2 separate regions of the Homo sapiens genome follow, and region 2 is linked to region 1. Evidence: promoter capture Hi-C in 16 types of primary human blood cells and fetal thymus (Javierre and others, 2016). All regions are on one chromosome and are shown on one strand. Each heading gives the region's core, a stretch centred on a gene start or on the middle of the fragment in contact. The rest is flanking DNA. Distances are from core to core; before and after follow the strand shown.

What was found. The method cuts DNA at HindIII sites, captures the fragments that hold promoters and counts their contacts. A CHiCAGO score of 5 or more calls a contact.
Region 2: a fragment that was not itself captured here is called in contact with the fragment with the promoter of SS18 in region 1 in 1 of 17 cell types (non-activated CD4 T cells); the score reaches 6.6 in non-activated CD4 T cells.

Annotation. Positions count from the first base shown.
Region 1 is chr18:26,088,816-26,092,736 of GRCh38, reverse strand. It overlaps SS18 (SS18 subunit of BAF chromatin remodeling complex), which reads left to right and starts at 2,124. Exons shown (of 11, transcript NM_001007559.3): 1 at 2,124-2,236. The coding sequence starts at 2,168. RefSeq lists an enhancer at 1,670-1,789. The HindIII fragment of the contact is 4,894 bases long and covers 1-3,921 here.
Region 2 is chr18:23,443,240-23,447,307 of GRCh38, reverse strand. No RefSeq gene overlaps it. Among named protein-coding and RNA genes, the nearest start is that of SLC35D4, 7.3 kb to the right of the region's middle. The HindIII fragment of the contact is 3,752 bases long and covers 1-3,275 here.

The DNA of each region.
Region 1 (3,921 bases), core at 875-3,374:
TGTTCCTACTGGTTCATGTTGCCCTTTGAAGTTTCAGTGCTATCTGCCAAATGCACAGAACTGGAGCAGTAGGACTATTTACGATTCATGTTTCCTATTGAAATACTGTTCTTAGCTACTAAGTACTAAGGTACTTTTGTGTAAAGCATTGAGACATGACTCTGCATGCTAGGTGTTGAGTGCACAGTGATAGTGGTAGACAAGTATTGGTTTCCAAATTTGACAGTTTTCCAATTTGGTGTGATTACCTTAAGTCCAGCTATACCAGAGTGTTTTCTTCAAGGCTTACAATAGTGAAAGATAACAATTAAATTTTTAAGAGTAATTACTGTCAGTAGCAGCATAAACTTTCTTCCCTTTATTCTTATGACAGCTTGAGTCTTCATCCTTTAGGTCCCAGTTTAAATATAATCGGGAAGACTTTTCACACTAACTCATGTAAGTGTTCCTGTCATTCTGTTAGTTCCTCCCCCTTTTTTTTGGCTAGTTTTTCTTGGGACTTTGCATATATACATATTTGTTTGTTTCTGGTCTGTTAGTCCCATTAGTGTATAAGCTCCTTGAGAGGAGGTTCCATGTCCAGCTTATTCACAATCGTACCCTAGGTTTCCAGTATAAAGCCTAACAAACAATGCATTTAATCAATGACATTCTTGACATTTTTGTGAAGAGCATTTATTTGATACTTAATTTTTCTTTTTTTTTTTTTGAGACAGGGTCTTGCTGTGTCACCCAGGGTGGAGTGTGGTGGGGCAGTCATGGCTTACTGCAGTCTCCACCCCCTTGGCTCAAGTGATTCTTCCACCTCAGCCTCCTTAGTAGCTGGAACTACAGGTGCACACCACCATACCCAGCCAATTTTTAAAATTCTTGTAGAGACAGAGGTCTCACTTTGTTGCCCAGGCTGGTCTCAAACTCCTGGCCTCAAGTGATTAAATTTTTAAAATAATGTATTTTTTCTTTATTTTTCCAATTTATATAAAAATGGAAATATTTTTTATTATTCATTAACGTTGGGTAACACTTTATATAAACTTTCCCTTTGTGTTATATGGAAGTCTAAATTTACAGAATACTTTAAAACCCCACGGCAACACAAAACCCACATTTGTCCGTGTTCCTTCCATAATTTGAAAACTTTGCCTTTTTCCCTTACACTGACTTGAAGCCTGGCAGCTTGGGCCTAATTTACAAGGCACTAAGTAAGTACTCTCTTAAAAAACAGAGAGTGAGGATGCCCTGTTTCACAACTTAATTCCAAAAAGCCAAGTCAGACGAAATCGACCCACTTTCCTGCTAAGGGTTTGTCCCAAGAGGCGAGCTCTTCTCTGTCCGCTCCAGCCAAGCTGGCCGATTGCCCCTGAGCACTGGACACAACCTTGGTGTCCCGGTTTCGGGTCAGGGTTACTTTCCAATTGTTAGGCACGACTTTGTGCGTGCGTGCGAGACTGTGGACTCGGAGGTGCGCATTTGGGGCGTAGCCGAGCCATTTAAACCAGCGAATCCGCGTTCACCTTGTCCTTCCACCTCTGCCCTATCTCGGCAGATGCTCCACGGATTTGCACGAACTCCCGAGTCTTGACCTCCCTCCCCTCTCCGGGCTGCCGGGACAACTCGGGGCGGCCACTCTTGCCAGGAGGCGTAAGTAAGGATGAAGTTGGAAAAACTGAACTAGGTCTAGGGCACGCTCTGCAACACAGTCGGGGAGACGCTTCAGAGGGCCGGAGAGGGAGGCAAGTTGCCACGGCGCGAAGGGGGCGGGCCGGCTTGGGCCGCTCGCATTTCCTGTGACAGGGGCTGCCCCAGCCTCTCCTTCTCCCGCGGCGGCGGGACCATTTCCTGAATCGCTGAAGCGGAGGGAGGACTAGGGCGCGACTCTACCATTAGCGCAAAGGGCCAGGGGGTGCCCATAAGGAGAGCTCGGGGGATGCAGGGACGGTCAAGAAAGTTCGGCCAGGGCTAGGGGTCCCCCAGAGTGCGCAGAAGCGAGACATCCCTGGCCAGAGTGCCTCCTTCAGGCCTGCCCCGCCGCCCGTCCGCTTGGCCCCGGAGCATCCCCCCTCCCCGCATTCCCGAGGTGGTTCAGCCCGAGAGGCCGGCGTCTCTCCCCCAGTTTGCCGTTCACCCGGAGCGCTCGGGACTTGCCGATAGTGGTGACGGCGGCAACATGTCTGTGGCTTTCGCGGCCCCGAGGCAGCGAGGCAAGGGGGAGATCACTCCCGCTGCGATTCAGAAGGTGAAACCGCGCGGGGTTGCGGATGCCAGGCCCTTACCGCCTCTGGGAGAGACAGACGCGGGGGGAAGGGCCGGGCCCGGAGTCGACCGGGCCGAGGCGGAGGCGGGCCTGCTGGGAATCAGCAGTGTTTGGGAACACGGACTGCTGGCTGTGCCTGAGTGGGTGGCGGAAGAGGGTGAACCGGTTTTTCTCGGAGTCTTTCACGCATTTACGCGTTTTTCTACAGACACAAAAGCCCAAACAGCCGCCGCCTGATTTCTCTAGGGATGGGGCGGCGTTCGGGCTGCGGGGCGCGTGCGCCCGGCGGCGGCCGCTCAGGGAAGGGCGTGTGTCGGACCGGCGGCCCCGCGCGTTGCTCCGGAGTTACTTTGGCGTCGCCCCGCCCCGCGTGCCGCGGCTGCTTCGTGCGGACCCCACCGCGGGTCGCGGCAGGCAGAGGGGAAGTCGGTGCGCTGGTCGCCGCCCTGCAAACTCAGCCGAGTTTGGGAGCTCGCAGGAGGACTTGGGGAACGCTGGAGGGAACCTTAGTATAGAGTTTGAGGAGCGGGCAAGGAAGGTCCCCATGGACTCTGGGGTTGTCCCCAGAGCCTCTTCTTCCCTTCTGCATCGCCGCCTATTCATTTATTCTGCAGCAAATATTTATTGAGCGCCTATTTTAGGCGCTGAGGCTACTGTGGTGAGTCATGGTCCTTGCCTTCCTGGAGCTTACAGTCTAATGGTGGAGACTGTCGTGACCAGTTAATGTAAGTCGTGATAAATACACAGGGAGCTGCCTCCTTTTTAAAGGATAGAGCTGCTGCAGTCGCTGCTGTGTTACTGCCAGTCGGAACACAAAGGTTCTTTATTGTCCTCTACCCCTTGTTGCCTGCAAGCAAGGCAGCATTCTAAATTTTACTGACCTAGACTTTCAGAAGTTGCTGCTGTATTTAGCAGTTTACTTTAAATATTTTTGTTTTGTTTTATGCTGTGTAGCAAAGATCAAAATAGAAAAAAAGGTCAAGTTTTAGTACCACTCAGACCACGTAGATTATGCTAATCGGTTTCTGTTTACTGTCAGGTTCTTCGTAGTGTGGCTTTTGACATTTGCCCAACTGTTGCTTTATTTTATGAACAAACGGGCTTGGCAGTGCCTGGAAATGCAGTGCTTTCATATAGTGCTCTGAGTTAAGTCTGCAGCCTGGCAAACAGCTCCAAGTACGCACTCACGCAAAACTGCGTTTCTGGAGGGCTCACCTTTTTTATTTTTGTACACAGGAAAAGTCCAGAGTTTTTCTTTTTTTTTTATAGTTTCTGTTACATAAGTCTGAAGATATTTATCATGGATAATGATTAATTCGGAGGATGCTGATCAATTATTTTCCATTCTCAGCTGAACAGAAAAATGGGCTCTAAATTAATTGCCTTATTCTACAATGGGAGAGATTGATATTAGATGTGAGACAGATATTTTAATGGTGAAGTTCAATAGTTTGAGGAATATACTGGAGATAATAAGTTGTGAAATCATTAGGTTGAGGACTGGATTCGTGCTTTTTAAGGACTTTTTTTGGTCATCCAATGGTTCTATTTAAGAAATAACTGCATTTATTAGCAGATCATGTTAGTGGTTTTTTTTTTCCCCCAGTAAGTGAAGATTATGATTCACGTGCATAAAAAAGTGACAGTTAATGTTAAATGGATGTTCC
Region 2 (4,068 bases), core at 150-2,649, 2.6 Mb after region 1:
GCCACCAACTATGTACTCCTTAAAAAGGAAGATAGAAGGACATGCACAATATTTGCAAATTCTACATTTACAAATGTTGCTAATAGGAAAAATGTGGTTTACCAATAACAGCATTTAGTCCTATGTGATTTAATAGTGAGTCCTTGAATGGGGAAACGGCCATTTTGCTGTCAGGCAGAGTAAGCAATGTTTAGAGGCTTTGGCTCCAGCTCCTACTCCCTGTCTTCTCTGCTGATGAACTCACTGCTGGTTCTCTGTCTTTTTTTTTTTTTTTTTTTTTTTTGAGACGGAGTCTCGCTCTGTCGCCCAGGCAGGAGTGCTGTGGCGCAATCTCGGCTCACTGCAAGCTCCACCTCCCAGGTTCACGCCATTCTCCTGCCTCAGCCTCCCGAGTAGCTGGGACTACAGGCACCCGCCACCACACCCAGCTAATTTTTTTGTATTTTTTTTTTTAGTAGAGATGGGGTTTCACCGTGTTAGCCAGGATGGTCTCGATCTCCTGACCTCGTGATCTGCCTGCCTCGACCTCCCAAAGTACTTGGATGACAGGCGTAACCCACCGCACCCAGCCAAACTCACTGGTTCTCAGCAGGAACAAAACTATTTGAGAATCTGCCCTGTCTAAACACATGAATCAGCAGATTCTTTGGTCTCTAAAGAGAACAGAAATAAGGCTCTTTAGTTTTTAATATTGAAATAAGTCTATTCTGCAAATAGCTGTTTCAGGCAATGAACAACTATCTATTAACTACCTAGGATGCCCCCAGTCCTTTGGGAAAAACAAAGAACTGTGAGATTGCACTTGGAGAGATAACAATAGTCACACAATAACATTAAATAACAATACAACACCTCTATCTCAAAGAGTGCATGATTTATTTCCAAATGACAGCTATAGACACAAACATTTCAGGATTCATTGTGGGGTAGTGAGATCTGGAAAGGCTGCGTGGCACCAAAGTAGGTCATGAACGCTGGGGAGAAGCTGTAACGCTAGTTTGGGTGGAAGAACAGCCTAAGACTAGGCATAGGGGCAGGAAAGCCCATAGTATATTTAGTGACTGCTGAGTAGTTTCATAAGATTATTAGATGAAATGTTACAGATATGGTTCAGTTAGGGTCAGCTGGGACTCAGCAGTTCTTAAGCCTATCTAACCCATTGCCATTTTTAACAACAAAGATTTTGTTTTGCTCCCTTTACTGCATAGTATCTTTTAAAATTGATATATAATGATCGACTATAAGGGATAAACAAAAGGAAAATTATTTTTATTTATTTATTTTGAGACAGAGTCTTGCTGTGTCACCCAGGTTGGAGTGCAGTGGTACAATCATGGCTCACAACAGCCTTGACCTCCTAGGCTCAAGCAATTCTCTTGCTTCAGCCTCCTGAGTAACTGGGAGGTGTGCGCCACCACACCTGGCTACTTTTTTAATTTTTATATTTTGTAGAAACGGGATTTCACCATGTTGCCAAGGCTGGTCTCAAACTCCTAGGCTCAAGTGATCCTCCTGCCTTGGCCTCCCAAAGTCCTGGGATTACAGGTGTGAAGCACTGTGCCTGGCTTCTAGCATCATTTGTTAAAAAGTGCTGTTCTTTGTTCATCGGATTGTCTTGTCAAAAATCAACTGGCCATAAACGTGAGGGGTTTCAGTTCTATTCCATTGGTCTGTATGTGTATCCTTATGCCAGTACCATACTGTCTTGAGTGTAGCTTTGTAATAATCTCTGAAATTAAGAACTATGAATCCTTTAACTTTGTTCTTCTCTTTTAAGATTTTTAGCTATAAAGGGTCTCTTTAATTTCCATATGAATTTTAGGATCAGTTAGTTAATTTCTGCAGAGAAAAATAAACCAGGTAGAATTCTGATTGGGACTGTATTGAATCTGTAGAATCAACTTGGGGATTATTGCCATCTTAATAATATCCAGTTTTCCAATCCATAAGCATGGGATATTTTTCTGCTTAATTTTATTTATTTATTAATTAATTCAATTGGTCTTCTTTAATGCCCTTCAAAAATATTTTGTAGTTTTCAGATAATAAATTTTTCATTTATTTTGCCAATTTTTCATAAGTATTATGCTTTTTATGGTATTTTAAATAAAACTTATTCCTTAGTTTTATTTTCAGATCGTGCATTGCAAGTGTATAGAAATATAATTGATTTTTGTATATTGATCTTGCATTCTGCAACTTGCTGGATTCATCTACTAGTTCTAACAGTTTTTTAGTGTATTCTTTATGGTTTTCTATATGTGAAATTTTGTCTTCTGTATTAGAGATAGTTTTATTTCTTCTTTTGAAATCTGGATGCCTTTTATTTATTTATTTTTCCTTGCCTTGTTGTCCTGGCTAGAGCCTCCAACACAGTGTTGAATAGAAGTGACAAGTTGGTTATTCTAGTCTGGCTTCTGATCTTAGTGAGGAAAGCACTCTTTCATCATTAGCTATGATGTTAGGGTGTGGGTTTTTATAGAAACCTTTTATGATATTGAGGAAGTTCCCTCCTATTTCTAGCTTCTGAATGTTTTGTTTGTTTGTTCGTTTGTTCGAGGTGGAGTCTAGCTCTGTCGCCCAGGCTGGAGTGCAGTGGCGCGATCTCGGCTCACTGCAAGCTCCGCCTCCTGGGTTCACACCATTCTCCTGCCTCAGCCTCCCGAGTAGCTGTAACTACAGGCGCCCGCCACCACGCCCTGCTAATTTTTTTTTTTTTTGTATTTTTAGTAGAGACGGGGTTTCACTGTGTTAGCCAGGATGGTCTCCATCTCCTGACCTCGTGATCCACCTGCCTCGGCCTCCCAAAGTGCTGGGATTACACGCGTGAGCCACCACGCCCGGCCATAGCTTCTGAATGTTTTTATTGCGAAGGGGTGTTGAATCTTGTCAAATGTCTTATCTATGTCTAGGTATCCTTTATTATATCAATATAATAAATTATCCTTTATTAGATATTGTGTATTATATGAACTGGTTTTGTAGGTTAAACCAACGTTGCATTCCTGGGATAAGTCCCATTTGGTCAAGCTGTATATTCTTTTTCATGTTGCTGAATTCCTTCTGCTAGTGTTTGGTTGAAGATTTTTGCATCTATATTCATAGGAGATATTTATATTCTCTCTGTTTTTTAAGGGTGATTTAAGGAGTTTCAAAATGTGTGCTACTGCTTCTGTCATCTTTTGAGAATTCTGCATGTGTGCTATCATAAAAATTTATTATTAAAAAAAGATTTGTGGGGGAAAAATCCCACAAGCCATTGTTTTATCCAAGCTTCCCTCTTTTTTCATTCAATAAACATTTATTGAGCATTTATGAATATATTATCAAAAAAAATAATGGGCGGGGCGCGGTGGCTCACGCCTGTAATTCCAGCACTTTGGGAGGCCGAGGCGGGCGGATCTCCAGGTTAGGAGATCGAGACCATCCTGGCTAACACGGTGAAACCTCGTCTCTACTAAAAAAAAAAATTACAAAAAAATTAGCCGGGCATGATGGCGGGCGCCTGTAGTCCCAGCTACTCGGCAGGCTGAAGCAGGAGAATGCTGTGAACCCGGGAGGCAGAGCTCGCAGTGAGCCGAGATTGCGCCACTGCACTCCAGCCTGGGCGACAGAGCGAGACTCCGTCTCAAAAAAAAAAAAAAAAAGAGAGATCAAGACCATCCTGGCCAACATGGTGAAACCCCGTCCCTATTAAAAAATACAAAAAAAATTAGCTGGGTGTGGTGGTGTGCGCCTGTAGTCCCAGCTACTCGGGAGGCTGAGGCAGGAGAATCGCTTGAACCCGGGAGGCAGAGGTTGCAGTGAGCCAAGATCGTGCCATTGCACTCCAGCCTGACGATAGAGTAAGACTCCATCTCAATAAATAAATAAATAAATAAATAAATAAAGTAATTAATGATAATGCCCCTTTGGTCTCAAACATCTCAATTAATAATACAAGTACATATTTTCATGTGCATAGCAAGTTTACCTCAATCTCACATTAACAGCTATGGTTCGTCAATGTAAAATCTGCTGATTTTGTTTTAATTCAGTCTTTGTTTCTGGAACAGAATAATACAGCTT